Linked DNA regions of Homo sapiens: regions 1 and 2 are each linked to region 3. Evidence: promoter capture Hi-C in human tissues and cell types (Jung and others, 2019). All regions are on one chromosome and are shown on one strand. The core of a region is centred on a gene start or on the middle of the fragment in contact, and the rest is flanking DNA. Distances in the headings are between cores, read along the strand shown.

The links. The method cuts DNA at HindIII sites, captures the fragments that hold promoters and counts their contacts. A contact is called where the count stands out against the background at its distance.
Region 1: a contact is called between a fragment that was not itself captured here and the fragment with the promoter of EBI3 in region 3, in 1 of the 25 tissues and cell types used here (dorsolateral prefrontal cortex).
Region 2: a contact is called between a fragment that was not itself captured here and the fragment with the promoter of EBI3 in region 3, in 1 of the 25 tissues and cell types used here (dorsolateral prefrontal cortex).

What each region holds. Positions count from the first base shown.
Region 1 is chr19:4,364,242-4,368,659 of GRCh38, reverse strand. It overlaps SH3GL1 (SH3 domain containing GRB2 like 1, endophilin A2), which reads left to right. Exons shown (of 10, transcript NM_003025.4): 2 at 1,666-1,734; 3 at 2,087-2,159; 4 at 3,035-3,178. Among named protein-coding and RNA genes, the nearest start is that of MPND, 23 kb to the right of the region's middle. RefSeq lists an enhancer at 1,817-2,738. The HindIII fragment of the contact is 3,201 bases long and covers 94-3,294 here.
Region 2 is chr19:4,413,047-4,418,056 of GRCh38, reverse strand. It overlaps CHAF1A (chromatin assembly factor 1 subunit A), which reads right to left. Exons shown (of 15, transcript NM_005483.3): 4 at 1-37. Among named protein-coding and RNA genes, the nearest start is that of CHAF1A, 13 kb to the right of the region's middle. RefSeq lists an enhancer at 4,253-5,010. The HindIII fragment of the contact is 3,051 bases long and covers 331-3,381 here.
Region 3 is chr19:4,226,975-4,231,393 of GRCh38, reverse strand. EBI3 (Epstein-Barr virus induced 3) reads right to left here and starts at 1,871. Exons shown (of 5, transcript NM_005755.3): 1 at 1,777-1,871; 2 at 71-203. The coding sequence starts at 1,843. RefSeq lists enhancers at 97-598, 1,562-1,651. The HindIII fragment of the contact is 27,598 bases long and covers 1-4,419 here.

The DNA of each region.
Region 1 (4,418 bases), core at 445-2,944, 140 kb before region 3:
ACATGAAGGCAGGTGGACAGAAAGGGTCCCGATGCGTGGGTGAGGACAGTCCCGTGGTGTGGGGGCTTCCAGAGCCAAGCCTTGGAGGAGGGCCAGGAATTCCTTGGCAAAGGGGCTGGTGTCTTTTTGGGCAGGTTGCCAGGACACAAGACCAGCCGTGTACTCCGGGCAGGCTACCTTTTGCAGAACTTGGGGTTGGGGGCATTTGCACTCATGGTGCCTTGGGCTGTGACCTCCAGGCATGGGCTAGAGGGTACACCAGGTGCCTGGCGTGGGCAGAGCCCCAGGCTCAAGCTTCTCCTGCCCCCGCACTTCCTGCTCTTGGGTCACTTCCTCCCAGGCTGGGTCCTAAACTCCTGACTGCCCTGCTGGACACCCCCCAGCCCCACACAGCCAACGCAGTGTGGCACCACACGGACCCTCATGGCATCCCTTGGCCACGTCTTGTGACAGCTCGGGGCAGGCAAGCACCAATCAGACCTGGGGAGCACCAGGGGCACAGGCCATGGCCCACGGCACGCAACACCTCACTCTCCTGCCCAGGCCGTGTGTGCACGTCTTCACACAAGTGATCAGACCCGGGATGTTAAATTTGCCGATGACTTCAGAGATGGCACACCCTGTGACACTTGGCCCCCAGAGGGCAGGGCCAAGCTTGTGACCTCAGGCGGCCTCCCTCTGGGAGCCTCCATTTGTGGCAGGGCCTGGCAGCCACTCGGCTCTTCATGAAGCGCTGTGTGCTGGGAAGGGCCTCACACTGTCCATCCTCACTCTGTGCGGCATCCCTTGGCGCCAGGCACACATGGGATACGTGGGGTGAAGAAAGCAACGCCTGTGCTCAGACAGCGGTGCTGGGGTTCAGTGGTTCCCGCCATGTTCCATGGGACATTTCAGGGCTGTTTTTCGCATCCCAGGCGCTGTCAGAGGGAGTGGTTTGGGAATTCAGTGCTTGCTTCTGCCTTCCCACCACACGAGGAAAGACGCTGTAAGTGCCTGTCATTGTCATCGCTTTCACCGTAGCTGAGAGCCGTGAGGACCAAGGTGTGCCAGGCCTGTGTTGACTGCCTTGTGAAACTCAGTGTCCACATGGGGCAAGGGCTGGGCTGTCCCATCCTGCAGACACGGGCACCAGAGCACAGGAGAATGGCGGCCTCCCTGCCCGGCTGCCTGCACCTCTTCTCGTAACTGTCAGCTCCTGCTGCCTCTCCCAGCCAAGCTGGCAGGATTTTTTTTTTTAAGTAGACCCCACATACTCAAGGATGGGGGCAGATCCCCACATTGCTATCTGTGGGGATGTTTGTGTAGGCGCTTCTGGAAGCAGTGTCTTCTGAGCCATGTGTTCTCAGGCTGAGGCTCTGGACTCCACCGTGGCCCAGATGGGGCCTACTGTGGCAGGGTCCCCAGTGGGTATGTGAGTGGCAGTCGGGACACACACAGGTGGGCAGGCCACCCCCACCCTCCCCCTCCCCCTGCAGGCCCACCCTGCTCTGCAGGCAGCGTGTGGCCCTGGGGTGCCCACGGCAGTGCCTGAGGTGTGTGTCCTGATCACTTGGCCTCCTGCCTCCAGCTGTGGATGCGATGTGGCTGGAAGGCGGCTCAGGGCCTCCTGTCCTCTTCTTCCTCCTACCCCTGGGCTCACAGCGTTTCCCCTCTTCTGTCCTCTAGCTGGTCAGTGAGAAGGTCGGAGGGGCCGAGGGGACCAAGCTGGATGATGACTTCAAAGAGATGGAGAAGGTGAGGAAGAAACTGCGTGCTCTGTGTGGTGGTGGCACTGCTGGGGCCTGACCTCTGCCGGGCATAGTGGAGGCGGCCAACCTTGATGGGCCTGGGTCTGGAGTGATGGGGCCCGGCAGGTGTGGAGAGATGGGGTGGTGTGGGGGCCTCGTCAGCTGGACTTGACGGGCACCAGCTCTCTCCCCTGCCGTGGGCAGGCAGCTGTGGGGACATGGCTGAGCTGAAGACATGGAGAGGGGGTTGGGGGGTCCTGGTATGGGCTCTTAGGGCAGGAGGCGGTGCAGCAGCGGGGGTCTTGTGTGCCTTGGGCCCCCACTGGCTGTGGAGTCTTATATGCTGCTTCTCTTCACAGAAGGTGGATGTCACCAGCAAGGCGGTGACAGAAGTGCTGGCCAGGACCATCGAGTACCTGCAGCCCAACCCAGGTGGGTGCTCCAGCCACTGCCAGGGCCTGCCCCAGGCCCTCTGGCCTCTGTGTCAGAGGGAAGGCAGGGGATGACAGAACCGCCAGGCTCATGGGTTGTGGGCTTCAGGCACAGCTGGATCCCGGAGTGCAGAGGCCATCCTTGGTGCTGCATGCTGCCTTTCCACCTCAACCAGCAGCTCAGCCCCTCTGTTGGCTTCACTCTCATGCCGACTGGTTCCTCAGGGCCGTCCCAGCCTTCAACCCCTCTTCCAGCCAGCAGTCCTGGCAGGGAGCCTCTCCCCCAGCTTACTTGTGGGATCCATTTGTATTGGCCGCCCCTCCCCAGTGCCCCTGGCCTGGACTTCACCTCTTGGGCTTGGGACTGGGTCTCCCTGGCTGAGAGACGGGCTTTTCCCCAAGGAAAACCCAAATGCTGGCTCCATAGGAGGCCACGGACAGGGGGCAGACGCACACCCAGCAGTGTCCACTCAGGCCCTGCCAGGAGCAGACCCAAGCGGGCAGCGGAAGGGACACAGCTCATCACCCACCCCGGGAGCCTTGGCCTCAACCACCCCCCGCTGCACATCACTGCTGCGCCTCCTCCCTGGCACCCCCCAGATGAGGGGTCATAGCCACGTTCCAAGAGGAGCAGCCCTTGGAAGGAGGAGGTTTTGCCCCCTGAGGAGCTTGGTCACCTCTCCACCCGCTGCCAGCTCCTTTGAGGCTAGCAGGAGCAGGGAAGGGACCCTCTGGGGATTCCACTGTGCTTTGTGTGGCCTAGGCTGTCCACAGGCACAGGAAGCAAGGGTGGGGAGGAGATGTGGGGGCTGCAGTCTGCCAGGGCAGAGGAGTGCAGGCCTCACAGCCCACACCCACCTGGCCATCCTATCCCAGCCTCGCGGGCTAAGCTGACCATGCTCAACACGGTGTCCAAGATCCGGGGCCAGGTGAAGAACCCCGGCTACCCGCAGTCGGAGGGGCTTCTGGGCGAGTGCATGATCCGCCACGGGAAGGAGCTGGGCGGCGAGTCCAACTTTGGTGAGTGGTGCTCTCTGGAAGCCACGCCCACCGTCCCTGGAGGCCACACCTCAACACAGGCAGGGCAGGTCCAGGCCCTGCATGTGCTGAGTGCCGGGGACGTACAGTGGCCCCCACAGCTTTCCAGCTGCAGAGGTGCAGGAGACTGCACAGACCAACCCATCCAGCACTGGCCAGCAGCTGATAGGGCCCCTTCCTGTAGCTCCAGACCTTCCCCAACTCAAGCCAGCTGCTTCCCCAGGGCCTGGACCCCCCAGCATCTGTCCTTCCACCTGTTAAGGGCAAACCTAGGCCCTTTTAGGAGCATTGGAGGGTCTGGTTTAACGTCCAGCATCGATTCGGATTTTAGGATCCTTTGTTTTGCCCTGAGTTCCAATTTCCGGGCCCTGGGCTTAGAGTGTTGGGGGGCTGTTAGAAGTTGGGATGGGGCCAAGTGTGGTGGCTCATGCCTGTAATCCCAACACTTTGGGAGGCCAAGGCAGGTGGATCACCTGAGATCGGGAATTCGAGACCAGCAAGACCAATATGGAGAAACCCCACCCCGCTTCTACTAAAAAAAAAAAAATATATATATATATATATACACACACACACACACACACACACACACACACAATTAGCCGGGTGTGGTAGTGCATGCCTGTAACCCCAGCTACTCGGGAGGCTGAGGCAGGAGAATCACTTGAACCCAGGAGGTGGAGGTTGCAGTGAGCCGAGACTATGAAAAAACAAAACAAAACAAAACAAAACAAAAACCGGGTGCGGTGGCTCACGCCTGTAATCCCAACACTTTGGGAGGCCGAGGCGGGCGGATCACAAGGTCAGGAGTTCGAGACCGGTGTGGTCTATATGGTGAAACCCCGTCTCTATTAAAAATACAAAAATTAGCTGGATGTGGTGGCAGGCCCCTGTAATCCCCCTTACTCAGGAGGCTGAGACAGGAGAATTGCTTGAACCTGGGAGGCAGAGGTTGCAGTGAGCTGAGATCATGCCACTGCACTGCAGCCTGGGCAACAGCGAGACTTCATCTCAAAGAAGTTGGAAAGGATCCAGGTGTGGGGGTGAACGCCTGTGGTCCCGGCTACTTGGGAGGCTGAGGTGCCAGCATGGCTTGAGCCCAGTTTGAGGCCTGCAGTGAGCTGGTACAGCGCCACTGCGTTCCAGCCTGTGAAACGCTATTTCAAAAACAAAGGCTGAGGAGTGTCTCAGTCTAGTGGTCCCAGGCCCGGTATGATGGCTT
Region 2 (5,010 bases), core at 607-3,106, 190 kb before region 3:
TCTTCTCTGTAGAGCCTTTGACGAATTTCTTAGTTATCTGAAAACAGAAGACGTTTATCTTTAAACACGGGTTATTTCAATTGCTTCGAGAAAAAGAGAAACCTTTCCAGGTGATCAGTTTTTCCACCAACAGAACCAAAATGTCATAATAGGGTCACAAACTCCAGTAAGTGTGCATACATGTGTGTATCTGGGATTAGATAACAAGAGAGACTACGGAGGCAGATAAAGAAATGAGTGAAGGACACCAAGCACAAGAAAAACAAGGCAAGCTCAGAAATAAAGGCAACAGACAAGGCTGGGCGCGGTGGCTAACGCCTGTAATTCCAGCACTTTGGGAGGCCGAGGCAGACAGATCACCTGAGGTCAGGAGTTCGAGACCAGCCTGGCCAACGTGGCAAAACCCCATCTCTACTAAAAATACAAAAATTAGCCGAGCGTGGTGGCAGGTGCCTGTAATCCCACCTACTCAGGAGGCTGAGGCAGAAGAATCGCTTGAACCCAGGAGAAGGAGGTTGCAGTGAGCCGAGATTGCGCCACCATACTCCTGCCTGGGCAACAGGGTGAGACTCTGTCTTAAAAAAAAAAAAAAAAAAAAAGCGACAGCTGGCCTGGGCGACAGGGAGAGGATGGATTTGTAGCAAAGGAGAGAGGACCTGCCTGTCCAAAGGAGATGGAGTTCTTACAGGAATATAGATCCCTATTTGCTGGTCCTTCCAATTTCTCCAAGAGAAGCTGATATTAGGAATTTCATATGAATTTTTTTAGGTGTTTAAAAATGGACACAGACGGGCACAGTGGCTCATGCCTGTAATCCCAGCACTTTGGGAGGTCAAGGCGGGAGGATCACTTGAGCCCAGGAGTTCAAGACCAGCCTGGGCAATAAAGCAAGACCCTGTCTCTAAAAAAAGCTTTTAGTTAGTCGGGTGTTGTGGTGCACATCTGTAGTCCTAGCTACCCAGGAGTCTGGGGTGGGAGGAGCCCGGGAGGTTGAGGCTGCACTGAGCTGTCCAACCTGGGTGACAGAGTGAGACTGTCTAAAAAAAAAATAAAAAGATACTAAATTAATCAAATAAAACATGTCTCCAGGCTGGTTTCCTGTGCACCACTAATTTACATTCTGTCTAGCTCAACTCTGCTTTTTATTTTAATGTTATTTTTGAGATGGAGTCTTACTCCTGTCACAGAGGCTGGAGTGCAGCGAGTGCCACGATCTCGGCTCACTGCAACCTCTACCTCCCAAGTTCAAGCGATTCTCCTGCCTCAGCTTCTTGAGTAGCTGGGATTATAGGCGTGTGCCACCACACCTGGCTAATTTTTGTATTTTTAGTGGAGATAGGGGTTTCATCATGTTGGCCAGGCTGGTCTCGAACTCCTGACCTCAGGTGATCCACCCGCCTCGCCTCCCAAAGTGCTAGGAATTCAGGCGTGAGCCACCGCGCCCAGCCAACTCTGCTTTTTAGAATGTGGAGTGAAAGCTTAAGACAAAAGGGAAACTTGCTGGGGTTTTCTAGGACTTCTACCTTCTAGGGCACAATATTTTCTATCACCTACCTTCAAACTGAGCATGAGCTACTAGGAATTACCAATAGGATCCATGGTGTGACTCACCATCCACCTAAATGGTCCCAGGAAGGAAGACGAACAGGGAGTCTGGACTTTGGCCTAAGCTATCTCCCACCGGGGCAGGGAATCCTGAAAACCAAACTAGTAGAAGTGAAGAGCAATGGGAAGAGACGCTTAAGAGTGGGAAGAAATAGTTCTCCGGGTTCATTGCAGACTTGCAGTGTAAGACTGAAGTTGACTGAAAAACCAAAGGCCCATTTTCCTGGCAATGGTCTGAGGGGTCAACAAAATTATGTAAGTGATTTCTTTTTTTTTTTGAGACGGAGTCTCGCTCTGTCGCCCAGGCTGGAGTGCAGTGGCGCCATCTCGGATCACTGCAAGCTCCGCCTCCCGGGTTCAAGCGATTCTCCTGCCTCAGTCTGCCCAGTAGCTGGGACTATAGGTGCCCACCACCATGCCTGGGTAATTTTTTTGTATTTTTAGTAGAGATGGGGTTTCACCATGTTAGCCAGGATGGTCTCGATCTCCTGACCTCGTGATCCGCCCGCCTCGGCCTCCCAAAGTGCTGGGATTAAAGGCGTGAGCCACCGCGCCCGGCCAACAGTGATTTCTTTATCTGGGAAAGCTGAACCCCTGACTAGGACCTCTCACAGAATAAAAGCTTCAGATGAATGAGCTCAAGACAGCCTTTCCACCTGGGTCCCACTGAGTCCTTTCTGGACTAAACCTTTCTTTAGGGAAAGGCCGAGCCGTTGTGAGAAGGCTGCCCGTGTTGGCAGGAGCTCTTTCACCACCGAGATCAGGCCAGGGTGTTCAGTCTTTGCTGAGAATGTGGCAACAGAAATGCCAGCCCGAGGCAGCCTCACCAAATGCTGCAGAAAAAGCATCTGTCTCTCCAGCATCTACTCTGCCTGCCAAGGCTGTGTGCCTCTCCCCCACGCTGAGGGATTTAACTGCAGAATATGGGAGCCGCAGCTCTCCGGGGCTGCCCTTTGTGTTCAGAGATTATAATACGGAATGTGGTCTTGGGGTGGCGGGGAATTCAGTTCCTTAGTCTTGCCCATGCCTGAAGCTCAGCTGCAGAATCTCCTGCCTCTTACAATGCCCCCCCTCTGCTGTGAGTCCAGAGATAACAGACTTGATGTGACTGGCAAGAGCCCGCTCAGTAATATCCAACAACCAAAACAGAGCAATTACTGCTTAATTTAAAACTGGTATCTTTTTTGCTTTGCCAAACCCTCAGATGGACCTTGAAGTCTGACAGAACTTTATCTTCTTGAAATTTGACCCAAGTGTTTATAGATCTCACTCTCAAAATTCTATGCAACACTCCCACATTCTACCCAGCTGGAGCCCGGTCAGACAGCACCCTCAACTGCCAAAAACGTGATCCAGGATCCCAGAAGGAAGCCAAAACACAAAAACCGACAATCCCAAGGAGTCGCGACAGAGCTCACTATGTGTGGGCATGAAAATTCCTGCACCCTTTCTCAGATAATCCTCTCAGAGCCTATGGACTCTGATTTTATACTAAAGGGTATCTAATTTCTAAGCCCAGACCAGATAAGCCGCTAAAACCTGACAGCAGGGGAGCGGAGGCAGGGGGGAAAAGAGAAAACCTCCAATTGGCCCAAGCATGAGAGAGTGCAAGCTGGGAAAATAAGAACGCACGCATTGCCTTGAGCTACCAAGACCTCATTCTCCTTAACAGCCCAAGGCCACTTGTAGAAGGAAGCTCAAGGGAACAATCATTTTGTGAAAGCCAAGCACAGAAACAGCAGAACTGAGAAAACAGCTCTGTAACCTACAGCATGTCCACACCATGGGATATCACGCAGCTGTTAAAAAGAGCTCCATCTTTCCATCCCAATATAAAAAACATCTAAGACACCCTTGAGTAACAAAGACAGATATTTACAGTATATGTCATACACAAGGAAACAAAATGATACTGGGTGTTTCCTAGAGATCTCTCTGGATATACAGGACACAGAAAAACACAAGGTGATGATGATGATAATAATGGCAACCTCCTGGGAGAACAGAGGGCTTCAAGGTTTCCATTCTTTTTCCTTTTTGTTTTTTTTTTTTTTTGAGACGGTCTGGCTGTTGCCCAGGCTGGAGCACAGTGGTGCAATCATGACTCACCGCAACCTCTGCCTCCTTGGCTCAAGTGATCCTTCCACCTCAGCCTCCCAAGGAGCTGGGACTACAGGTGTGCACCCCCATGCCCCGCTATTTTTTGTATTTTTTGTACAGACGGAGTTTCACCATGTTGGTCAAGCTGGTTTCGAACTCCTAAGCTCAAGCAATCCTCCCACCTCGGCTTCCCAAAGTGCTGGGGTTACAGGCTTGAGCCACTGCACCTAGACCAGTATTTCTTTTAAACATGGAGAATTTATTACAAATGTAATTTCAAGTATATGGAAAGAAGTTCCAGCAATCTGGGCACAGAAGCAAGCCAAAGATTCCAGTAACACAACTGCACCAACATGATCATTTGTCAAATAATCATCTCGATCACTAACAGAAGAGGCTAAATCACAAGTCTGATTGCAAACTTCAGAAATGGTTCTTTCCCACATGGTAGAAAACTCTAATACTAAAAAGGAACACTTCAGCTATTCAAAGGACCCTGGGAGTATCTAAAGGGGGATCTTTTTAAATCATTGTTTCTCCAAAGTGAGATTCTCCAGATCCTGCAGTACTAAAACAACAACAAAAACCAAAACAAACAAAAACACGCCATGAAGCTCCCTGCAAAGGGACAGCAGGACCTGTATCGGAACAAACTCCCATTTTCTTTTATTTTAAAGAAGAAATAATAAAGAAGGCAAGCCAGCCCACAAAGTACAGTGGCAATGACTGCCCTGGGACTCTCAATGCATATTTCACTGTACCAACTCAAGGAAGAACAGACCCCAGTGACAAGCACACAGATTACACGGCAGTGCGAAACAATCTGCAAGCTTCCCACCAGCTCGCCCCTGCAATCTGGAAAGAGCTGCTGGTAGGGAGGTAAAGTGCAAAAACAGTGTATTCCCCAGAGGAACAGGGGTTGTGGGAAGGGGGTGGCTTGGACGTCACGGCAAGGAAAGGTGTTAAGAGTTAGGTACCAACTGGCCAGGCGCGGTGGCTCACACCTGTAATCCCAGCACTTTGGGAGGCCGAGGCGGGCGGATCACGAGGTCAGGAGTTCGAGACCAGCCTGTCCAACACGGTGAAACCCCATCTCCACTAAAAATACAAAAATTAGCTGGGCCTGGTGGCGCGTGCCTGTAATCCCAGCTACTTGGGAGGTTGAGACAGGAGAATTGCTTGAACCCAGGAGGCAGCGGTTGCAGGAGCCAAGATCACGCCATTGCACTCCAACCTGGGCAAAAGAGTGAGATTCCGCCTCAAAAAAAATAAAAAATAAAAAAGAGTTAGGTACCAACTATGAAG
Region 3 (4,419 bases), core at 622-3,121:
TCTCAGGGCCAGAGTTCTGGGCTCTCCAGGAAGTCCAGTGTCCCTGAGGCCCCCTTCCAGGCTCTCCGACCTGTACGTGGCAATGAAGGACACGGGGCTGGTGGAGTTTGGAGCAGGCGGCAGGGTCCAGGAGCAATCCACGGCGATCGGGTACCGAGAGGCTCGGCATTGCACCCGGGGCAGTGTCAGAGCTGCTGGGGGCCCTGGAGGAAGACAGAAAGAGTGAGCTTCTGGTTTACCCCCAGATTGTCATAGCCCTCCCGTGCGCTGGGCTCCTGCCACGTTGCCAGCCAGCACCAGGTACATGGTAGGTGCCTAATAAAGGCTTTCGGAATAAATAGGTACATGGACAAAAGTCATCTGTCATCTTTTATCCCCACTGCAATCCATCTAGGTGAGGACTACTAGCCCATTTTCCAGATAGGGAAGCTGAGGTTTAAGCATCTACAGAGAGGAACTCGGGTAAGAGAGAGAGATTTTACCGTGTTCTCTCTTTTGTAATTGTTTTTTTTTTTTAAAGAGGGAGTCTCCCTCTGTCGCCTAGGCTGGAGTGCAGTGGCGAGATCTCGGCTCACTGCCACCCCCGCCTCCCGGGTTCAAGCGATTCTTAGCCTCCCGAGTAGCTGGGATTACAGGCATGTACTGCCACGCTTGGCTAATTTTTGTATTTTTAGTAGAGAGGGAGTTTCACCATGTTGGCCAGGCTGGTCTCAAACTCCTGACCTCAGGTGATCCACCTGCCTTGGCCTCCCAAAGTGCTGGAATTACAGGCGTGAGCCACCAAACCCAGCCTATAAATTATTATTATTATTATTATTTTGAGACAAGGTATCCCACTCTGTCACCTAGGCTGGAATGCAGTGGCACAATCATAGCTCACTGCAGCCTCCAATTCCTGGGCTCAAATTATCCTCCCACCTCAGCCTCCCAAGTAGCTGGGACTACAGGCACGTGCCACCACATCTAGCTAATTTTTTAATTTTTTGTACAGATTGGTGGGGTCCGGTTTCACTATGTTGCCCAGGCTGGTCTCGAATTCCTGGCCTCACGATCCTCACGCCCTGGCCTCCCAAAGTGCTGGAATTACAGGCATGAGCCACCATGCCCTGCTGTAACCATTTTGTCTTCAAGGACATGGAGATGTTCTCTAGTGCAAAATGAATGAATGTCGGCCGGGCGCGGTGGCTCACATCTGTCATCCCAGCACTTTGGGAGCCCGAGGTGGGTGGATCACCTGAGGTCAGGAGTTCAAGACCACCCTGGCCAACATGGTAAAACCCTATCTCTACTAAAAATATAAAAAGTAGCCGGGCATGGTGGCGGGCACCTGTAATCCCAACTACTCGGGAGGCTGAGGGAGGAGAATCTCGCTTGAACCCAGGAGATGGAGGTTTCAGTGAGCTGAGATGGTGCCACTGTACTCCAGCCTGGGCGACAGAGTGAGACTCTGTCTCAAAAAACAAAACCAAAAAGAAACCAAAGGAATGAGTGTGACTCAAATTCGCATGTCTGTGTAGCTATGTCTGTGTAGCTCTATGGATACCTCTGAGCTGTGACTGCCAGTCCCTATCACCCACAAGGTGACATCCTTCCACCCCCAATGTGGCACTCTGCCTCTCTGTGCCTCAGTTCCTCCATCTGTACAATGGGAGGGTAACCCCATCCCACCATTGGGCACGGGAGGATGTGATTTCCCACCCCAGACATGATCCGAGGCCAGTCCTCGTGTCATGTCCGTCTGCCTGGGCCCCCCAGTCCCCCAGGGGCCCCACATACCTTTCCTTCCACTGCAGGGCGGGCAGCTGGCCCAGAGGACAAGGGCCAGGAGAAGCTGCGGGGTCATGGCTGCGGCCAGCTCTGCTCTCAGGAGTGGGTGGGAACGTCGTGGGAGACTTGAGAGGGGAGGTGAGGACTTGGGACCTGCCCAGGGGAAAGCCCAGCCCAGGGTCAAGGCCCGCCCCCTCCCCGACTTCCTTCAGGTCTGACTCACTGGTGGGGCTCGTGGGGCCGCTAGGGAGATGAATTAGGGTGTGGAGGAGCCCCAGCCCCCTGGGGAGCACAGGCCACCCCTGCTCGGAAGGCCCCGAGGGTGGGGGCGGGGGAGGAGGCTGTGAAAGGGAGAAGTGGAGACCTGCTGGCTTTTCCCAGCACAGCATGTCCTGCTGGCCTTCCTTCCGCTGCCCTGAAGCGGGGGAAACCCCAGGCAGGCAGGCAGGGGCTCAGGGACATGGAGGGAGACAGAGGCAGAGATGGGGGAGAGAGGCAGAGAGACAGAGAAGACAGAAGGAAGACACAGAGAGACAGGGAGATGACAGAGACAGAGACACAGAGAGAGACACAGATGAGAGAGGCAGAGAGACAGAGACAAGAAGAGGAGGACACAGAGATAGAGGGATACAGAGACAGGGAGATGACAGAGACAGAGACAGAGAGACACAGATGAAAGAGGCAGAGAGACAGAGACGAGAGGAGGAGGACACAGAGATAGACAGGGAGATGACAGAGAGACACAGAGACACAGATGAAAGAGGCAGAGAGAAAGAGACGAGAGGAGGAGGACACAGAGAGAGAGAGACAGAGACAGGGAGATGACAGAGACAGAGACAGAGAGAGACACAGATGAGAGAGGCAGAGAGAAAGACAAGAGGAAGAGGACAAAGAGATAGAGAGACAGGGAGACGACAGAGACAGAGAGAGATACAGATGAGAGAGACAGAGATGAGAGGAGGAGGACACAGAGATAGATAGAGACAGGGAGATGACAGACAGAGAAAGGGGCATGACAGAGACAGAAACACAGAGAGAGACACAGAGATGAGAAAGGCAGAGATGAGAGGAGGAGGACACGGAGATAGACAGGGAGATGACAGAGACAGAGACAGAGACAAAGATGAGAGAGTCAGAGAGACAGATGAGAGGAGGACACAGAGATAGAGGGATAGAGAGACAGGGAGATGACAGAGACAGAGAGAGCTACAGATGAGAGAGGCAGAGAGACAGATGAGAGGAGGACACAGAGATAGAGGGATAGAGAGACAGGGAGATGACAGAGAAAGTGACAGAGATACAGATGAGAGAGGCAGAGAGACAAATGAGAGGAGGACACAGAGATAGAGAGAGACAGAGACAGGGAGATGACAGAGACAGAGAGAGATACAGATGAGAGAGGCAGAGAGACAGAGACGAGAGGAGGAGGACACAGAGATAGAGAGACAGGGAGATGACAGAGACAGAGAAAGGGGGATGACAGAGACAGAAACACAGAGAGAGACAGAGATGAGAGGAGGAGGACACAGAGATAGATAGGGAGATGATAGAGACAGAGAGAGACAGGGGAATGAGAGAGACAGAGACAGAGATGAGAGGAGGAGGACACAGAGACAGAGAGAGACAGGGAGATGATGGAAACAGAAAGAGAAACACAGAGAGCAGACAGACAGAGGAAGAGAGACAGAGGGACAGAGATAAGAGAGGAAGACAGAGATAGGGAAATGAGAGAGACACAGAGACAGAGATAAGGGAGGAAGACAGAGAAAGAGAGACACAGATGGGAAGATGAGAGACAGAGACAGAGAGACAGAGATGAGAGAGTAGGATAGACAGAGATAGAGAGATGGTGGGGCACGGTGGCTCACGGCTGTAATCCCAGCACCTTGGGAGGCCAAGGCAGATGGATCACCTGAGGTTGGGAGTTCGAGACCAGCCTGACCAAAATGGTGAAACCCTGTCTCTACTAAAAATACAAAAATTAGCTGGGCGTGGTGGCAGGCACCTGTAATCCCAGCTACTCTGGAGGCTGAGGAAGGAGAATCACTTAAACCTGGGAGGCAGAGGTTGCAGTGAACCAAGATTACACCACTGCACTCCAGCCTGGGTGACAGAGTGAGACTCCATCTCAAAAAGAACAACAACAACAACAAAAAGACTGATGGGGCAATGACAGAGATGGAGAAAGAGAGACAAAAGAGAGACAGAAAGAAGACAGGAAGACAGAAATAGAGATACGGGGAGATGACAGACACAGAAAGAGAGACAGAGAGATAAGAGAAGACGACAGAGGGCCGGGTGTGGTGGCTCACGCCTCTAATCCCAGCACTTTGGGAGGCTGAGGCGGGCGGGTCACAAGGTCAGAAGTTCGAGACCAGCCTGGCCAATATGGTGAAACCCCGTCTCTACTAAAAATACAAGAATTAGCTGGGCGTTGTGGTGCGCACCTGTAATCCCAGCTACTTGGGACGCTGAGGTGGGAGAATCGCTTAAACCTGGGAGGCGGAGGTTGCAGTGAGAGGAGGTTGCAGTGAGCCGAGGTCACGCCACTGCACTCCAGCCTGGGAGATAGAGTGAGACTCTGTGTCAAAAAAAAAAAAAAAAAAAAAGGCTGAGCGTGGGGGCTCACACCTGTAATCCCAGCACTCTGGG